Linked DNA regions of Homo sapiens: all the other regions are linked to region 1. Evidence: promoter capture Hi-C in human tissues and cell types (Jung and others, 2019). All regions are on one chromosome and are shown on one strand. Each heading gives the region's core, a stretch centred on a gene start or on the middle of the fragment in contact. The rest is flanking DNA. Distances are from core to core; before and after follow the strand shown.

What was found. Contacts are between HindIII fragments. The study calls those that stand out against the background at their distance.
Region 2: a contact is called between a fragment that was not itself captured here and the fragment with the promoter of IL31RA in region 1, in 1 of the 25 tissues and cell types used here (mesenchymal stem cells).
Region 3: a contact is called between a fragment that was not itself captured here and the fragment with the promoter of IL31RA in region 1, in 1 of the 25 tissues and cell types used here (aorta).
Region 4: a fragment that was not itself captured here is called in contact with the fragment with the promoter of IL31RA in region 1 in 1 of the 25 tissues and cell types used here (bladder).

What each region holds. Positions count from the first base shown.
Region 1 is chr5:55,849,974-55,852,673 of GRCh38, forward strand. It overlaps IL31RA (interleukin 31 receptor A), which reads left to right and starts at 1,384. Exons shown (of 15, transcript NM_139017.7): 1 at 1,384-1,660. The coding sequence starts at 1,598. The HindIII fragment of the contact is 16,782 bases long and covers 1-2,700 here.
Region 2 is chr5:55,707,246-55,709,945 of GRCh38, forward strand. The region is part of intron 2 of SLC38A9 (solute carrier family 38 member 9); the gene reads right to left. Among named protein-coding and RNA genes, the nearest start is that of SLC38A9, 3.7 kb to the right of the region's middle. The HindIII fragment of the contact is 5,694 bases long and covers 1-2,700 here.
Region 3 is chr5:56,041,488-56,044,187 of GRCh38, forward strand. No RefSeq gene overlaps it. Among named protein-coding and RNA genes, the nearest start is that of IL6ST-DT, 48 kb to the left of the region's middle. The HindIII fragment of the contact is 6,264 bases long and covers 1-2,700 here.
Region 4 is chr5:56,001,251-56,004,040 of GRCh38, forward strand. It overlaps IL6ST-DT (IL6ST divergent transcript), which reads left to right. Exons shown (of 2, transcript NR_102755.1): 2 at 499-2,399. Among named protein-coding and RNA genes, the nearest start is that of IL6ST-DT, 7.5 kb to the left of the region's middle. RefSeq lists an enhancer at 1,911-2,205. The HindIII fragment of the contact is 6,106 bases long and covers 1-2,790 here.

The sequences.
Region 1 (2,700 bases), core at 134-2,633:
CTGATGGATCATTTGGATGGGTAGAGCATCCTAGGTGAGAAATAATTTTCCAATAGAGTTATAAAGGAATTGATCCATTGCTTTCTAACTTCTGGTTTTGTTATTAAGTCTAAAGCCATTCTCATCCTTGATCCTTTGTATGTGACTTATTTTTTTCCTATCTGGAAACATTTTTTTTCTGTTTATTCTTGATATTCTGAAACTTCACTGTTTTGTACTTCAGTGTAGATTTATTTTCATTTATTATGCTGTTTACAGTGGGCCCTTTCAATCTGGAAACAAATGTTCCTCAATTCTTGGGAATTTTATTGTATCACTTCTCTCATTATTTCTTTCCCTCCATTCCTCTGTTCTGTGCTTCTGTACTGCTGGTAGTCAGATGTTGGCTATTCTTCATCTCTTTGTCTTTTCTTCTATCTTCTGGAAGATTTCCTCAACTTTATTTTCTAGTCTTTAGACTTCAGCTCTCATATTTTGAATCTCCAAGAGTTCTTGTTCTCTAATTATGCCTTTATCATAGCATCCTATTCATATTTTGTGGGTACAACATTTTTTCTTATTTTCTATGAAGGTTTAACTAATATTTCTTTTAAAAAATATTCTGCTTTCTGCATTGCCTTTCTTTCAAGTTTTTTCCCCCCATCTGCTGTTGGGATGGGAGAAATTTAATGAATTTGGCTTTGTGGGGTTAGGATTAGGTAGTCTATTTCTTTTTCAGATTTTCAACCAATCTTATGATTTTTGTTTCAGAGGTATAGTCAATTCTCATTATTCCTTCATTATTCCTGGCAATTATGTTCAATAAAATCGCCACAAACACTGAATTAGAAAATACTGCTGAGCGTGGTGGCTCATGCCTGTAATCCCAGCACTTTGGGAGGCCGAGGCAGGTGGATCACCTGAGGTCAGGAGTTTGAGACCAGCCTGAACAACATGGAGAAACCCCGTCTCTACTAAAAATACAAAATCAGCTGGGCTTGGTGGCGCATGCCTGTAATCCCAGCTACATGGGAGGCTGGCCTGAGGCAGGAGAATCACTTCAACCCGGGAGGTGGAGGTTGCGGTGAGCTGAGATGGCGCAATTGCACTCCAGCCTAAGCAACAAGAGCGAAACTCTGTCTCAGAAGAAAAAAAAAAAGAAAAAAAGAAAATACTGAATTATTCTCTGTGGGGGAAATATAGAGTTAGGTGCCTGTGAGCCTCTGGTCACAACATTTTTGTCAGCTAATCAATACATAACCTTGTTTTGTGTGTGTTTCTGTTTAAAGACACCTTATTTAATATACATTGTTGATTCATCAACATTGAACTCATGGCTAATAACAGTACTATGACTCATGCCTGAATAGAGCTTATTTAACACACATATTTTCTCCATGAGGCACAGCCTCCTTCTGCTTAGGAACACCAGACAGCACTCCAGCACTCTGCTTGGGGGGCATTCGAAACAGCAAAATCACTCATAAAAGGCAAAAAATTGCAAAAAAAAATAGTAATAACCAGCATGGCACTAAATAGACCATGAAAAGACATGTGTGTGCAGTATGAAAATTGAGACAGGAAGGCAGAGTGTCAGCTTGTTCCACCTCAGCTGGGAATGTGCATCAGGCAACTCAAGTTTTTCACCACGGCATGTGTCTGTGAATGTCCGCAAAACATTGTGAGTATTGATTTGGGGGGTTACAAATAATTCCTAGCAAGTAGGTGAATTCACAAATAAGGAAGCTGTGAGTAATGAGGGTTGATTTTACCTACCTAGTGTCTCAAATCCTGAGCCGTATGAGATTCCGTGGCATAATTATGTTTGCTTATTGTTGGCAACCTTATTAGGCATTTCTAGGTTTCTGCTTTCTCATCTTTACCAGTTCAGTTATGGCTTGATTCATTTCTCTTTTTCCAAAGATTTGTTGACATCTCTTATTTGCTGTTGCCTCTTCCCATTTGTTTTGTCTTGTGGTTCTATATCTTTGCCATAATTTTTGTGGAGTTTCCTGAGAGAGTAGAGATAAATGTATATGCTCAATTGGTCTTGTCTTAACCAGAATTCTATTTAATACACAACACCTTTAGTGAGCTGTTATGCATGTAATAGGTGTTTACTAAGTATTGGTTGAATAAATTCAAGAAATGCTTGCTATTTTTGTGCTAGCATTTAGCTTTTCTCTATAGTATATTATAATGGAATTTTATTTTATTTTATTTTATTTATTTTTTGAGACAGAGTTTCACTCTTGTCGCCAGGTTGGAGTACAATGGCACGATCTTGGCTCACTGCAACCTCTGCCTCCCGGGTTCAAGCGATTCTCCTGCCTCAGCCTCCCGAGTAGCTGGGATTACAGGTGCCTGCCACCATGCCTGACTAATTTTTTTGTATTTTTAGTAGAGATGGGGTTTTGCCATGTTGGTCAGGCTGGTCTCAAACTCCTGACATCAGGTGATCCACCTGCCTCAGCCTCCCAAAGTGCTGGGATTACAGGCGTGAGCCACCACGCCTGGCTGGAATTTTAAATATCTCATAATTATAATCTTCTAGGTAAAAGACTAGCTCTCTTTCTCACCCTTATTCCTCCTACTTAGTGGAACATTGCCTAAGGAAGATGGGGAATGGGTTAAAAATTAAAATGTGGGGCTGGAAAGCATAGCTTGTTTTAAAACTTAGTTTTCTTTCCTTTTGCATCATAATCTCTTCCCCGGTCTATT
Region 2 (2,700 bases), core at 72-2,571, 140 kb before region 1:
ACTTAGGTTGAGAGGTGAATTAGAGTTCCACAGCAAATATTACATAGGTGATAATGCAGAATAGTTTATCAATGATTAACAAAAATGCTAAATACTTCTATAGTATTAATTTGTCAGACATTACATTGATATAATTTGGTAGGGGCTAAATATACAAGATGACATAAACAGACATATTCCAGCCTGGCCAACATAGTGAAACCCTGTCTCTACTAAAAGTACAAAAATTAGCCAGCAGTGGTGGCACACACGTGTAGTCCCAGCTACCCGGGAGGCTGAGGCAGGAGAATTGCTTGAACCCAGGAGGCAGAGGTTGCAGAGCAAGACTCTGTCTCAAAACAAAACCCAGACATAATCACTTTTAACATCTCACTCAATCTCTGAGTTTTAAAACAAAGTCCCAGATGCAAGACCACTAAGTCAAATCTAAGTCATTAAATGAGTCTCTAATTGTTTAAGATTGGTTTTAATAAGGAGTCCAGCTATGATTTGAATGTTTGTGTCCCGTCCAAAATTCATATGTTGAAACTTAATTGCCAATGTTATAGTATTAACAGGTAGACCCTTTTGGAGGTAATTATGTCAGGAAGGCAGAACCCTTATGAATGGAGTTAGTAACCTTATGAAAAGTTTGAAGGGAACTAGCTAGATCCCTTTTGTCTTTCCATCCCTTCCCCCATGTGAGGACACAGCACCAAGGCACCATCTTGGAAGCAGAGACCGGGTCCTCACCAAACATCAAATCTGCAGGTGGCTTGATCTTGGACTTCCCAGCCTCCACAACTGCTAGAAATTAATTTCTATTGTTTATAAATTACCTAGCCTCAAGTATTTCATTAGAGCAGCACCAAGAGACTGAGATAGGTCCCAGTAGGGAATGAACAGCTTAGTTGACTTGCTTGGTACTTTCGACTTTTATTTAAAATGTTGGTGACTGAGCCAGGCATGGTGGCTCATGCCTGTAATCTCAGCTACTCGGGAGGCTGAGGTGAGAGAACTGCTTGAGCCCAGGAGTTCGAGATTGCAGCGAGCTACAATGGCACCACTGCATTCCAGCCCAGGTGACAGAGTGAGACTGTCTCTAAAAGAACAAAAAATGTTAGTGCCTGTACTGAAGCACTTCTCTCCGTAAAAAGGACATAGAGAGCAATCAAAGTAAACTGGTATGACATTATTTTAAAAAGGTATTGACTGTGATTATTGGCGTATCTCAAAGAATATCAGCCCTTTCCATACTAGGCTCAGAAATGTCTTTTCACAATTCTTTGCAAAAATAAATCTATAGAATCTATGCCAAGATGCTAGCATCAATCTGCAATAGAATACACTAGCTTGTGCCCAAATAAATGTGACTATGGACCCACATACAACTATTATATATGTTCTTTCTCAGAGACTAAAAATGAATATTACTGAATACTTTTGTGTATGTTATAGAGTTTCAGATACTACATTTATACTCAGTGTCCTAGGCTAGAGGTTGACATATTTTTTTCTGTAAAGGGTCAGATAATAAATATTTCAGGCTTTTTGAGCCATATAGTTTCTGCAGCTACTCAATTCTACCTGTTAGCATGAAAGGCAATTGAGTGTGCATGGCTGTGTTCCAATAGAACTTTATGAAAAAAATATATCTGTCAGCAGGCCAAATTTGGTCATAGTTTACTCACCTCTGTAGTATGCCAACATAAAAGCAAATGGAACCACACCACAAAAAAGTCACCCTGGTGGAAGCAGTTATGCTATGTATATATATTTTCTTCTGTATTAGTCTGTAACAGCTATAAACTCCAATAACAAACTTATCTAAATCTCTTCCTGATGAATCATTTACTGGTTAGCCAATAGGATCTATAATGCTCCTATTCTGATGTGACAGTTGGAACATGCTTCCAACCTGATCAATAAATGCTTCAAAAGGCGTTAAATTTGACAGTGCTGGAGGATAGTGTGGTCTCACAAAAAAATTACCAAAGCAACGCTGTGGTACCAAAGAATCTCTCCTTCTACAATGGGAACACTAAATGCTCTCAAGTTATATTTCAGTGGTAAGAAAGAAAAAAACCCTAGCAAACGACAGAAATTTAAGTATGTTACAAAATGCAGGCCTGGTAGACATTTTTAACCTCTAAGTGATTTTTTTTTTTTAACTTTTAAGCCCATATATACTTTTTAAAAAATACCATATAGGTCCAGTGTGGTGGCTCATGCCTGTAATCCCAATGCTTTGGGAGGCTGAAGCAAGAGGATTGCTTGAACCTAGGAGTTCAAGGTAACAGTTAGCTATGACAGTGCCACTGCACTAAAGCTTGAGTATCAGAGCAAAACTCTGCCCCTAACCCCAAAAAGAAAAAAAAAATACTAAACAATACTATTTCAATTTGTAGTTCAGGTTGGTATTCCATCCTCCTATGCTGAGTTTACCCTTTATTGTAAGTATTTAGAGTATTATAAAATCACAATTAAAAGCATATTATTTTATGTATGTAACTGAAATATATAGTATTTAAGATTGTGATTAGAAATCTAAGGCTAACTGGCTGGGCGTGTGTGGCACACGCCTGTAATCCCAGCACTTTGGGAGGCCGAGGCAGGCAGATCAAGAGGTCAGGAGATCAAGACCATCCTGGCCAACATGGTGAAACCCCATCTCTACCAAAACACACACAAAAAATTAGCCGGGTATGGTGGCGTGTGCCT
Region 3 (2,700 bases), core at 158-2,657, 190 kb after region 1:
TTCATTTAGGCCAGGCACGGTGGCTCACGCCTGTAATCCCAGCACTTTAGGAGGCCGAGGCAGGCGGATCATGAGGTCAGGAGTTCGAGACCAGCCTGGCCAATGTGCTGAAACCCTGTCTCTACTAAAAATACAAAAATTATCTGGGCGTGGTGGCTGGCACCTGTAATCCCAGCTACTTGGGAGGCTGAGGCAGGAGAATCCCTTGAACCTGGGAGGCAGAGGTTGCAGTAAGCCAAGATTGCGCCACTGCACTCCAGCCTGGGTGACAGAGCAAGACTCCATCTCAAAAAAAAAAATTAAATTAAATTTAAAAAGATTAATTCATATAAATTTAAAGCACCATGTGGCTAGTGGCTACTGTATTGCAGAGTGCAGCTATTGATAGCAAACGACACTTGTACATTCTACCAATGGTAAAATTCAAGTCTTTACTTCTGTTCAGTCTCTCTGTGAGCTCCACTAACTCAGTAAGTTATCTCAAGCCTGCTTTATTTTAAGGCAATGGATTCTAGATCCAGGAAAAAAAGTTCCATTTCCCTATCTTGTGTCCAAGGCAGACATAGCTAATTGACCATGGCATTTTTATTTTCTCTGAGTTTAGAAGTAGCTTTGTCATCTTTCTCACAGTGAGGATCTGGAAAGCCACTACTCGTTGAGAGGGGGTAACAATAAACTCATATTTATTGAGGGCTAACTGCGTGCCAAGTACTTTAAGTTACATTAGAAGTAAATCCCAGTCCCTCCAACCACACAGATCTGCATTGTCTTCTTTGTGTTGGGAACCAAGATACTCTTCCAACTGGGTTGGATGTCAACCTGCTCAGCCACCTCCATGGGACAGACCAATCAATCATTCAAAGGACAAAGGAATTTATTTCTCCCCTCACAATATTTGACAAAACTTAAAACACTGATCTTTCCATCTTCATTCCACTACAATAATTATATGTTCATAATGGAGACTGGACATGGGGAAAGCAAAGTAAAAGAACATTTACTACGTGTCGATGTCAGCGCTGTGCAGGATGCTTTAGACATTTTTGTCATTTAGCAGCTATAGGAACCACATGGACAGGATATATAAAGCATCTTTAGTTTGTCCTTTTCTGCTGTGCCTCACAAGAAGTGAGTAATTAATTTTGTCAGAGGGTGTTTAATTCAGTTTACTTATTAATTCATTTACTAAGTCAATGATATTAATTAAGTGTCCAGTAAGTGCAAAAAACAATGCTAGGTTCTGGGAAGCCACATAGACATCAAGGTCCTGGCCTCAAGACATTCAGCTTTGTGGACTATAAACGGAGTATAATGAGCCATGGCGATACAGGGAAGAGAGAGTTTGAGGAGACAAGGAAGGCTGCAAAGAGAAGGTGGCCTTTGAACTAAGTGTTGATGAATAAAAAGAATTCACCAGGTAAGAAAGGAGATTCTGGACTGAGGTAAAATTATGTGTGATAGCATAAGCACAACAAATCCATATGGAATATTTCAGAAATGGCAAGTGTTTTAGTGTAATTTACCAACACCAGAAATTCTGCTCTTGGAGTGACGTGTATCTACTTATAATGGTACATTGTAAATTACTTTGCCATTGCATGATGAACTCAAAGCGTACGTAAGTTAAGCTGTCAAGAAAATATCAGCATATTATATTATTGAAGTAAAATCAGAGGGAAAGTGATCTACTGCTAACTAGCTATCTGACTTCGGGCAAGTAAGCTTGGTTACTTTAGGTTTTAGTTGCCTTATTTATAAAATGAAGAGGTTGATGTAGAATGTATTATTTATCCTCTACACTATTCTAAGAAGCAACAATAATACCAAGGGCTTATTCTCAGAATGAAGGAAAGAAGAAAATCAACAGGTACTTACTGAATCTGCCCCTAGTAAGTTGACAAAGGAAAGGAGATAAGTATATATTCATTGTCAATTTGCACAAAACAATTAAAAACTGCTAAGAAAATATTAAGGTGTTAGTTTGAACTTCTGAATTCTTTATTTTTTTTTTTTTTTTGAGATGGAGTCTCGCTCTGTTGCCCAGGCTAGAGTGCAGTGGCGCGATCTCTGCTCACTGCAAGCCCCGCCTCCCGGGTTCACGGCATTCTCATGCCTCAGCCTCCCGAGTAGCTGGGACTACAGGTGCCCGCCACCACGCCCGGCTAATTGAACTTCTGAATTCTAATGGCTGGGAGAGGGTGGGACATGGTAGGGAAAAGTGCAGATATGAATCTAAGAGGCTCGTTTTGAGGAAGGACTGCCAGATTTCTACAAAGCAATCAGAAAAAGGATACTACTATGCTCTTTCAATATCTTGTTCTTAAAAAACAAAAGTGATCATTCCTGGAACTCTGATAAGAAAGATTCCAGTAGGCTGTTTATTTACTTAACATTGCCATTGCCTGGACTGAAGAGAGATAATCACTTTTAGTTTCAAACTCGATCTAGTCTATAACACATGGAAAGGGATTTCATGTGTTTTCTAGGAAGAAACAGATGTTACCCATAAAAAACAAAGCAAAAAAACCCAAAAAATCTATATTGCTATTGCAAAATCTGAGTGTGAGAACTCATGTCATATTCATACACGATAAATGCCATATGTTATTTGTATAAAGAAAGGTAATAATGCATTTTCAAATAATTAGTTAAAATAATTTTGGTTGGTCAAAACTGTATTAGAAGATGAATTCTCTGAGG
Region 4 (2,790 bases), core at 5-2,504, 150 kb after region 1:
TGCAAGACATGTGAGCAGCAGTTAGGTGCATCCTATTCCTAGACACATACATAGGATAAGGAAGTCAGGTATTGGGACTGTAGCTTTGGAATGGACTATACTTGCTTCAGAATATTATCAGGGGGAGTTTGAGAAGCAAGGGCTTTCCTTCGTTGATTCTCCTTTCACCAGTCTTCCTGGAAAGAATATTCTGCAGTTACAAAATAGGTTCCTTGGCTGCCAGTCTGATACTTGTGCTAAAACCAAATAGATGAAAAAGTATCAACATGAATTTTAAAAAATATATTGTGTGAGCTTGTATAGCTAAGAATTCCCAGCCCCCTACATAGGATCTGAAGAAAGATCTAGTACTAATTGTATTAAATAATGGTTTAGGCAAATGTGTATCTGTCTCCTTAAGAGAGGAAGGCAGTCCCTACTGTAAAGTAAAAATGAAATGGATATACTTCCTGAGAGGGCTGGAATTTTCTGATAATTGTCCCCTCTGATTTTTCACAGGATTTACGGAATGGCCATCTTCCATAATTAACAAATAAATAAATGAAATTTAATGTCAGGGTCAAATGAAACTGGAAACAAAGCTTATCTGGTGATATATCAAATTATGAGAGTCATTATTTGGATGTAAGGATATATGACAGATAGACTCTTAGGAGAAATGCTATGACCTCCTGCTTCTTGGTATTCCTTGTGTGATTTCCTCCTCTTGAGTGTGAAGGCATGTATGTCATTGAGTTATATAAGATAGTGCCCATCTTGCTAGTGTCTCTCTCTCTCTTGTGGCTCTGAAAAATCAAGCTGCCTGCCATGTTTGAGCTTTGATATGGAAAGACCCACATGTTAAGGAACTGAGGGCAGACTCTGCCAACAGCTAGCTTTGAAACTGAATCTCCCGGCCAGGCACAGTGGCTCATGCCTTTAATCCCAGCACTTTGGGAGGCCAAGGTGGGTGGATCACAAGGTCAGGAGTTCAAGACCAGCCTGGCCAAGATGGTGAAACCCCATCTCTACTAAAAATACAAAAATTAGCTGGGTGTGGTGGCAGGCACCTGTAATCCCAGCTACCCAGGAGGCTGAGGGAGAGAATTTCTTGAACCCAGGAGGCAGAGGTTGCAGTGAGCTGAGATCACGCCACTGCACTCCAGCCTGGGTGGCAGAGCGAGACTCCATCTCAAAAAAAAAAAAAAAAGAGAGAAAGAAACCAAATCTCTCAGTCCTACAACCTCAAGGAACTGAATTTTGCCAACAAAAGCAGATCCTTCCCCAGTCAAGCCTCAGATGAGACAGCATCCTCAGCTAACAACTTGTTTGCAGCCTCATGAGAACTGAAGCAGAGAACCCAGCTAAACTGTGCCTAGACTCCTGACCACAGAAACTGAGATAATAAATGTGTGTTGTTTTAAGCTGCCAAGTATGTGATAATTTGTTATGTAGTGGAGAACTAATACAACAGGGAAAAGTTAAAAGCTATTCACATAAATATTTATAATGGATACTATTTCTACACATTTAAATCAAGCTTCTCTTACGTTCATAAGAAGATACGAATCTGGAGAAGGAAATTATATCAAGCAGAACGCTGCTCTGGTGTTGTGAAGACGGGATCCCACCATTCTAATGTATTCAATTTATTTATTCAATAAGTTTTGAGCATCAACTATGTTCCAGGCACTGAGATATTAATCTAAGGAAGACACACGTGTTGTCCTCATTGAGGAGCTCAAAAGTCTAATACATAAACCAACAATCATACAAAAATCATAGCCATGTTACAGTGCTATGAGGAAGATGTTAAGAGAATATTCTGGAAGTACTCATACATAAATACTTCAGAAACTGGGCATTATAAGAAGTCAGTTGCCTCTCTCTACTTTCAGTTCTACATTTTTATACCTTGTAGTGGATTTAAAATGGCCACAAATTCTTCAATACTCTTCTATGGAGAGATTTGAGGGCTATTTCCCTTCATCTTGAATTTAGGCAGGCTTGTTCAGGGTCTGGCTTTTAAGAGGAGCTTTCACCTTGGTCTGTGGAAGTCCTGAGTCACTGTGTACAAAGTCCATCTACCTTATTACACCATCTGGAGAGAGCTGAGACTACAGGGAGAGGGGGAGTGGCCCGGCTGATCCCAGTCTTCCTAGTGACCCTGCCCAGGAACTTGGCATGTGAGTAAAGCCATCTTGGAACCTCCATACCAGACCAGCCACGAGATGAATAATACTAACTGATCCCAGTCAATGCCACATAGAGCAGAAGAACTGCCTAACTGAATTCTTTCCAAACTGCTGACTCAAAAATTTGTATGGTATAATAAAATGTTTGTTTTAAGTCACTGTTTTGTTAGGAGTAATAAGCAACCAGAATAAAATTCTAATCTTTATCATGTACCGTGCTGAAAATCTGACCATCTCACTCTCCTTAAAACTCCGTCAATCCCTTCCCATTACCCAAATCCCTCTTGTATGTCATAGAAGTCCCTCATTACGTGACCTCTACCTACTTCTCTGGTCTTGTCTCCTAACATGGCCTCCAACTCCAGGCTCTCATATTACCTATTTGCTAATGGTTCCTGGGCCAGCATCCAACATACTGTTCCCTCCTTCCATGCCAAGAAGAGACAGCTTATTCTGTTTCCTTGGCCGGTCATTGCCTTCTTCATTTGCTTTGCCTAACTTGCTCACCGTGTAAAAATATTCATCTAAGTAGTTACTTCCTCTCAGAAGTCTGCTCTAGGCCATGAGAAACTCACAGCCAAAAATGCAAATGATTCCAGATGATCATTCACTGTAG